Regions from separate parts of the Homo sapiens genome. Here region 1 is linked to region 2. Evidence: promoter capture Hi-C in 16 types of primary human blood cells and fetal thymus (Javierre and others, 2016). All regions are on one chromosome and are shown on one strand. Each heading gives the region's core, a stretch centred on a gene start or on the middle of the fragment in contact. The rest is flanking DNA. Distances are from core to core; before and after follow the strand shown.

The links. Contacts are between HindIII fragments. The CHiCAGO score rates a contact against its expected background, and 5 or more counts as called.
Region 1: a contact is called between the fragment with the promoter of GOT1L1 here and the fragment with the promoter of BRF2 in region 2, in 17 of 17 cell types (erythroblasts, M1 macrophages, megakaryocytes and 14 more). The highest score is 18.3, in erythroblasts.

Annotation. Positions count from the first base shown.
Region 1 is chr8:37,938,152-37,942,874 of GRCh38, forward strand. It overlaps GOT1L1 (glutamic-oxaloacetic transaminase 1 like 1), which reads right to left and starts at 1,973. Exons shown (of 9, transcript NM_152413.3): 1 at 1,764-1,973; 2 at 549-730. The coding sequence starts at 1,878. RefSeq lists an enhancer at 1,479-1,995. The HindIII fragment of the contact is 5,963 bases long and covers 1,664-4,723 here.
Region 2 is chr8:37,847,842-37,852,015 of GRCh38, forward strand. BRF2 (BRF2 general transcription factor IIIB subunit) reads right to left here and starts at 2,020. Exons shown (of 4, transcript NM_018310.4): 1 at 1,789-2,020; 2 at 755-814. The coding sequence starts at 1,942. RefSeq lists enhancers at 1,696-1,835, 1,876-2,225. The HindIII fragment of the contact is 8,285 bases long and covers 1-4,174 here.

The DNA of each region.
Region 1 (4,723 bases), core at 723-3,222, 90 kb after region 2:
CTTTGGGAGGACGAGGCAGGGAATCCCCTGAGGCCAGGAGTTTGAGACCAGCCTGGCCAACATGGTGAAACCCTGTCTCTACAAAAAATACAAAAATTAGCTGGGCGTGATGGCACATGCCTGTGATTCCAGCTACTCAGGAGGATGCAGCACCAGAATTGCTTGAACCTGGGAGGTGGAGGTTGCAGTGAGCTGAGATGGCACCACTGCACTCTAGCCTGGGTGACAGAGTGAGACTCTGTCTCAAAAAATATATATAATAGGTTAAAAAATAAAACAGTAATGGGAATACTAACACCACCTCCAATTCAGATCATTCCTGTCTTGAAAGAGCTTTCAAATCAGCAGTGTGAGCAGGTGGGAATACCACTGGACTGAGATTCCGATCCTGACTCGATGGCTAAGGACTTGTGGACTCTCTGAGCCTCAGGTATCTCTTTTATCAATACCAGGGGGCCCTCCGAGGTCCCCTTCGGGTTTAAGGTTGTGCAGACCCAGATCGCCACTCTCTGTGTCTAAATGAGCCAGGGGAGGGCCCACCTTCTCACCCTGTTCTCCACAATGGCTTGGCTGTGCTTTCCAAAGAGGAGTGCTAGAGAGGCCTGGATGAATGATTTCAGGCCCATGGTGGGCAAGTACTCATAATTCAGGGAGGGATCCTGTGAAATCTGTAGTCGAGTCTTCTGCACCACGAGAGAAACCCAGGGATGGCCTTCATTTGTCATGCAGACTGTGAGGAAAACCACAGAGGGAGCTCCAGATGCCTGGTTTGGGCCCCCAGGGCTGAGCTCTGCAGACAGCCTGCAAACAAATCTCTCCTGGACTCCATGGGGCTGTGGGAAGGTGCCTGTGAAAATACAACTTTCCCTTTTCTTTTCTCCTTGATGAAAAGAATATGCTGTTAGTGAATGTGTATTATTTTTGTCTTTTTAAAAAAGACAACTGAAACCTATGCCATTTTAAAGGTTAAAAATTATACAAGCCCAGGATTGGTGGCTCAGGCCTGTAATCCCAGCACTTCGGGAGGCTAAGGTGGGTGGATCACTTGAGTTCAGGAGTTCAAGATCAGCCTGGGCAACATGATGAAACCCTGTCTCTACAAAAAAATACAAAACAGCCAGACATGGTGACCAGCGCCTGTAGTCCCAGCTACTCAGGAGGCTGAGGCAAGAGGATGGTTTGAGCCCAGGAGGCAAAGGTGGCAGTGAGCTGAGATCTTGCCACTGCACTTCAGCCTGGGCAACAGAGTGAGGCCCTGTCTCAAGAAAAAAAAAAAAAAAATATATATATATATATATATATATATATATATATATATATATGCAAAATGAGAGTTATAGGTAGATGAAGCTAAATAAAGGTAACCCTGACTTTCACAGTGGTGAGCCCCAGTTGCATAGCAGAAAGCTCAATCTGGAGAACCATTCTTGGTTCAAGAACAGGAAGAGAAAGAGAAAGAGAGAGAGAGGAGGTAAGAATCTGAAGAAGTGTGGGATGGCCATGCAGGCCCCCAAGCATAGAGTTGTGGAAGAGGACATAGCTCTCACCAAATCCCTAGAAGCCCCCAGAGAAGGGCAGAGAGCATGGAATGACCTGGGACCTTATCTGCACTTTTCCCCACTGGGTAATTCTGTTAACAAGAAAAGATCTCTCCACCCACAGAAGCTTGGGCTGCACCCCTCCCCCTGCAGCAGGGAACACTGTCCTCCTAGAGGCAGTTACCATCACTTAAGTCTTATACTTCAGAACTGCTAGGCATCTACCTCTATAGGCTAAGAATATCTTGTTCGGGTAATCATCTTGTTTGTAGGTCTTTAACAAGCTGCCCTCTAGCTTGTGGGCGAGGGGCACATCCATGAACACTGAAAGGGTGGGCATAACTGAAACGAAACTGGAGCCAAGACTATGTGTCTCTGCTCCTGTGTTCCGCTTCTGCCCAGAAGTCTTCCTCCAAGGCTGGGCCGGGCAGTCCTGCCTCTTCCTGGAACCTTGGCAGCCCCAGTGCAGAGGCGCTGGACAACGGGTTGCCAGGGCAACAGAACCTCATGATCTTTGTGGTGGCGATCCACAGGGGCCACAGGAACATTCCAGGGTACTTGAGGAGAATCCCCTCAGACAGCGGGCAGGGCAGGATAACAATCTCCGGAATTCCCAAGCCCGTTTCCCTCACTCAATGCCTTCTCTTCTCTAGCCCCAGGTGGCTCAGTCCAAAGTAACAAGCCCACTCCTTAGATGACAGGGCAAGGATAATGGGAGATTACTTAACAGATACAATGTACATTGTTGGGGTTATGGATACCCTAAAAGCCCTGACTTCACCACTATGCGATGTATGCATCTAACAAAATTACACTTGTACTTCACACATTTATACAAATTAAAAAAAAAAAAAAGAAAGAAAGACATAGGGCAAGGCAGGCAGCCAATAAGCCAGATAGGGCTTCTCCTGCAGAAGCAAAAACCCCAGATCACACACCAATGCAAGTCGAGGCATTGATTTCCATTTTGCAAAGTGCCCCAGATTTCAAAAGGAATAAAAAGCAAACACTGTTTTCTTCCACAGTTGTTTTAATAAAGAATCCTATTATTAGAATATAATTGGCAACTCACTAAGCCAGTCCTATTTCTCTCAGTTATCTAGAGCCAAGACTTCTACATATGTTTGTTAAGTTTCTTTTTCTTTCTTTTTTTGGTTTTTTTTTTTTTTGAGATGGAGTCTCACTTTGTCGATAGTCTCGAACTCCTTGCCTCAGGTGATCTGCCTGCCTTGGCCTCCCAAACTGCTGGGATTACAGGCATGAGCCACCACACCTGGCCATTTGTTAAGTTTCAATGACAGCCAACTAGTAAGTATAGACAGCAGAGGCCAAGGGGAGAAAAGAGCCAGCCTCTATAGAGTCAGTCTGCATATTGCTTGCTTTCTTTTCCTTTTGATGTTTAATGACTCTCTCTTTTTTTTTTTTTTTTTTTTTGAGACAGAGTCTCGCTCTTGCTGCCCACATTGGAGTGCAGTGGTGTGATCTCGGCTCACTGCAACCTCTGCTTCCCAGGTTCAAGAGATTCTCCTGCCTCAGCCTCCCGAGTAGCTGGGATTACAGGCATGCGCCACCACACCCAACTAATTTTGTATTTTTAGTAGAGAGGGGGATTTCTCCATGTTGATCAGGCTGGTCTCAAACTCCAGACCTCAGGTGATCTGCCCACCTGGGCCTCCCAAAGTGCTGGGATTACAGGCGTGAGTCACTGCGCCCGGCTTTTTTTTGTATTTTTAGTAGAGACAGGGTTTCACCACGTTGGCCAGACTGGTCTCAAACTCCTGACCTCAAGTGATCTGCCTACCTCAGCCTCCCAAAGTGTTAGGATTACAGGCATGAGCCACCACACCCAGCCTGATGTTAAATAACTCTTTAAATGATTGTTGCAAACACTGTTGATGTCTCACCCAGAAGGCCTTCACCACCAATGTGCCCGGCCCCAGCTGCTGCTTCGCTGGTGGACAAGGCTTATATGCCTGTGTTCTCTGGAGAATTGTGCTTGGCTGGCAGGAGTCAGCTAGCCTAGAAACCACCTGGAGGTTTCACCCCCACTGACAGGGGTAGCCAATGACTGCCTGATTTAGGCATACAAAGGGTCAGCCACAGCCAGGCATGGTGGCTCACACCTGCAATCCTAGTGCTTTGGGAGACTGAGGCGGGAGGATCACTTGAGCCCAGGAGCTCAAGACCAGCCTGAGCAACATAGGGAGACCCCCCCCACCCACTCCACAAAAAATTTTAAAATTAGCTGGGCGTGGTGGTATTGCAGTGAGCTATGATCATGGCACTGCACTCCAGCCTGGTTGACAGAGTGAGATCCTGTCTTTAAAAAAAAAAAAAGGTCGGGCACGGTGGCTCACACCTGTAATCCCAGCACTTTGGAAGGCCAAGACAGGCAGATCACAAGGACAGGAGATTGAGACCATACTGGCTAATGGGGTGAAACCCCGTCTCTACTAAAAATACAAAAAAAAAATTAGCCTGGCTTGGTGGTGGGCGCATGTAGGGAGGAGGCTGAGACAGGAGAATTGCTTGAACACGGGAGGCAGAGGGCACAGTGAGCCGAGATCTCTCCACTGCACTCTAGCCTGGGTGACAGAGCGAGACTGTCTCAAAAAAAAAAAAAAAGGAAAAGAAAAAGAAAAAAGGCCAGCCCCCTTGTCTCGGTTCACCTCTGTGGCTCAATCTACACTTCAGGGCCCATTCCCCAACCAGGCGAAGCCTAGACTTGACCTGAGGCCACATCCTTGCTTGGTTCCTTCCCCTTCACAATCCTGCTTCCTTCACTCCCTTCCAGGTTCTTCCTGAAGGGCACTCCTTCCCTAAGTCACATGCCCAGGAACTCCTGTCTCAGGCTATGCTCCCAGGGAACCTGTTTTGAGGCAAATGATTATGAAAGTAGTCCGTATTATTGTAGAAAACTCAAAAGCATCAAAAAATTATAATGAAGCACACAAATTCCCTACAACCAATCCATAACTTCAGTCCGGGTGCACCTCCATCCAGTTTCTATTCTTTGACATTTATATTTTAAGGTAATTGCTATCAACATTTATGTGTCATTTTCATCATACTTTCTTCACTTAACATTTCAGCTGTGAGGATTTTATTGTGTGCCAGTGAGAACCTTTTATGCTGCAGGTAATTTAAAAAAGACCTAGTCCAAACCAGCTTGAGCAACAGAGAGA
Region 2 (4,174 bases), core at 770-3,269:
ACCATTCTCTTCTACTCTACCTCACACCAGCAATGCTGAAAATAGGAAAAGTGAAAAGCTGGGCTAGGCCACCAGGATAGTTTTCTTTTATTATTATTATTATTATTATTATTATTATTATTTTTTGAGACAGAGTCTCGCTCTGTCACCCAGGCCGGAGTGCTGTGGTGCGATCTCGGCTCACTGCAAGCTCCGCCTCCCGGGTTCACGCCATTCTCCTGCCTCAGCCTCCCGAGTAGCTGGGACTACAGGCACCCACCATCACGCCCGGCTAATTTTTTTGTATTTTTAGTAGAGATGGGGTTTCATCGTGTTAACCAGGATGGTCTCAATCTCCTGACCTCGTGATCCGCCCGCCTCGGCCTCCCAAAGTGCTGGGATTACAGGCATGAGCCACCGCGCCCGGCTCATTATTATTTTTTTGAGATGGAGTCTCACTCTGTCACCCAGGCTGGAGTGCAGTGGCGCGATCTCAGCTCACTGCAACCTCCACCTCCCAGGTTCAAGCGATTCTCCTGCCTCAGCCTGCCAAGTAGCTGGGACTACAGGTACATGCCACCATGCCCAGCTAATTTTTGTATTTTTAGTAGAGACGGGGTTTCGCTATGTTTGCCAGGCTGGTCTTGAACTCCTGACCTCAGGTGATCCACCTGCCTAGGCCTCCCAAAGTGCTGGGATTACAGGCGTGAGCCACAGCACCTGGCCTAGGATAGTTTTCTTTAAAGCCACTGTGTTGTAAAAGGTCAATTCTCACCTCGTTGCTGGCTGCGACTAACTTGTTCGTTTTCCCCTGTGCTTCGGGAATATGTTACCTCTGTAAGATAATAAACAACAAATAGTGTGCTTAGCCTTTATTCATCAGACCCCTGCCCTCCCACCACACAAAACCAGGACGCAAAATTCAAATCATTGAGCATCTGCTGCTGCACAGTTAAAGGCCCCATCTGGTTTTCTATGTCTACAAGAGGTTCCGAATACACAGAGACTGGGAAAGGTTAGGACTGCATTAAAGCAGCTCCAAGTGTTCCAAATTTCCAGTCATCCTTCCAGTACATTCCATACAGGCAATTTTCCTAGCAGCAGATTTTGTTGTTGTTTGTTTAAGGAGTTTCCCTCTATAGTCCAGGCTGGAGCACAGTGGTGCGATCACAGCTCACGGCAGCCTTCAACTTCCAGGCTCAAGCAATCCTCCTACCTCAGATTCCTGGGTAGCTGGGATTACAGGTGTATGCCACCATACCTGGCTAATTAAAAAAAAATTTTTTTAGGCACTTGTCTCGTTACGTTACCAAGGCTGGTCTCGAGATCCTGGGCTCAAGCAATCCTCTCGGCTCTGCCTCCCAAAGCACTGGGATTACAGGCGTAAGCCACCCCACCCAGACAATGGCTGCAGATTTTGAGGGCTGCACTGGTCAGAAACTTGGAAAGCAAAGAAAAGTGATGTTTTGCCAGTTTGTGCTTAAAACTATTTCAGGGTAATAATACCTGCTATAATCGTATCGGCAATCCTTCCACAATGACCAGACATGGCAAGATGAGTGGAACTTTTGTTTCTGTCTCACTTATTCAATATTTATTACACGCACCATCTATGCCCGATACTAAGTGCTGGGAAAACACAGATGAATGGCAGCCCCCATCTCCTTCAGCTCCCTCGCTCACTTTAGGTCATTTTCTCTCAAATTAAGTGTGTGCGTTACAGTTAGGAGTATGGGGGGAGCGGGGAGGCAAAAGGAATCTGATGTTAATCCCTCCACCGCCCCAGGCTGTCCCCAGGGCCACAAGTACCTCGGAGATTGCCCTCGTCGCTGAAGGTAGTGGTAAGGACCCCCTCGGTGACCACGCAGCCGCAGTCGGAGCACACCAGCTGGCTCTGCGAATAGTGCGAGTCTTCCACCAGCTCCGTGGAGCCGCAGTCCGGGCAGCGGCCTCTGCCTGGCATCTCACAACCGGCCCCAAAGCCGCGGAAGCCTTCAGAGACTCCTGGGTCTGCAACAGCAACCGTGAGGCAGCAAGAAGTAGGAGGGGACACTTCAAAGGGTTGCACCCCCGTCTTCCGGCCAGCGCGACGGAGGCATAGGCGGTTCCCTCCGCTGGGAGGCTGCGCGCCACTTCCGGTCTGTGCCTCCGCGGGCTCGGGTAGAAACGTGAGCTAGGAGAGGAGGTTCCTGGGCTGAACTGTAGCTGTCTGGTTTCCCTGCACTCTGTAGTTAGTTTTTGGGACCTAGACTGGGGTTGAATTTGGGAAAGTTTTTGCCTACATGGACACGTATAACAGACAGAAGATTGTTGTCACCCCTGAACAACCCTCCTTTTAAAGTCCTAAGGGAATCGCAGGTTGGTAATGAATGTTTAATTGGCCATAGAAGAAAGTATATTTTTTAAAGGGAGAGTAGTGGAGAGAGAGCGGGAGCAGGAAACTGTGTTCTGCTTTCCAGAGCTGCTTCCTAAAGCAGATTCCTTCCTCTCTTTACCTCCTGTTTTTCTCAACTGTAAAATGAGGAAGTTGAAAAAAAAATCCAGAGATGCAAACCCAAACGCTTTTGGAGGCCAGGCAGGAATGTCTAAAGGAGTTTGGAGTGAAAGAATATGGAGTGATGGAGACCTGGAGCGGCGCAAGCACGCAGATTCAGATGTTTTTTAAAAAACCTTGAGCTATCTGGGCGTGGTGGCTCACGCCTGTAATCCCAGCACTTTGGAAGGCCGAGGCAGGTGGATCACCTGAGCTCGGGAGTTTGAGACCAGCCTGGGCAACATGGTGAAATCCCGTCTCTACTAAAAATACACAAAAATTAGCTGGGCGTGGTGGTGCACGTCTCTAATCCCAGCTACTCAGGAGGCTGAGGCAGGAGAATCGCTTGAACCCAGGAGGCGCAGGAGGCGCAGTGAGCCAAGATCGCGCCACTGCACTCCAGCCTGGGTGGCAGAGCGAGACTCCATCTCAAACAAAATAAAACATACCTTTAAGAAGTGTCACTCCCTTCTTTTCCACACCCAGTTTTTACACGTGATATCCAAACCTAAAGACACCATCCCTTCCCTAAGAGACTGCTTTCTCAGAGTGTGAGAATCACTACTCCTTTTCAGAGACATCCCGTCCATTCCCATGGGGATCGCTCACATTGGAGGGCCAAGAGACACAATAATACCCAACGGTCCTTTCTCTTCAATTTGAATTACTTTAGTATCATAACAGAAGGGGGCTTCAGCACATTAATCGTGGGTGGGATCCGGCAGTCCAAGCCCCCCCGCCTTTTCTAGACCTCCCCACTAGCGTGAGATACAGGATGAGAGCTTATTTCTGGCTGTCTGACAGTTAAATATTAAGATACATTTGCACATGCGCACCCGCACACACACACCACTCAGAGACATCCATTAGTTTTAGTGTGGTTGACATTCTTATTTGGATGAAGAAAGTGTCCCTGAAAGCGACATAACTTGCACTGGGAACAGTTCCTTGCATGATCACACAGCAGAGCATCAGACTCCCCTCATCCCCAGTTGTGTGCAGATCTTGAACCTACCTTCACTTTTTTTTTAAGCGGGACTTTACAGAGCCCATCTACCTAGGACAGAAGCCTTGAAATCCTGCCTGACCCAACCTGATTGATTGTAAAGTGGAAAAGCAGTTTTATGATCCTGCAGCCAGCCACGGAAGGAGAAAGCTGGTTGTCTTTCCCAGTCACACATGATGTACTTACTGGGAGCCTAGGAGAGCCTGGTCCTCGGGCACACACAGGCTGGGAGGGGGCAGGGTCCAGGCCAGAAGATGGCGCCCTCTACTAAGATGTGTAAGTTTGGGGTTCTCCACTTTCTCAGGAAGAAGTCCATTTATTTGGGAAATGTATTTGCCTTGCTCCAGGAAATCTGGACAGACGTGGAAATCATCTTGGTGCCCTCTCCACTGCTCCCAGTTCTTCTAAGAGTTATCATTCCTGGTAGTGATTATCTTATTTTTTAATTTTATTTATTTATTTATTTTGAGAGGAGTCTCACTCTGTCGCCCAGGCTGAAGTGCAGTGGCACAGTCTCAGCTCACTGCAGCCTCCACTTCCCGGGTTCAAGCAATTCTTCTGCCTCAGCCTCCCAAGTAGCTAGGACCACACGCGCCCACCACCATGCCTGGCTAGTTTTTGTATTTTTAGTAGAGATGGGATTTCACCGTGTTGGC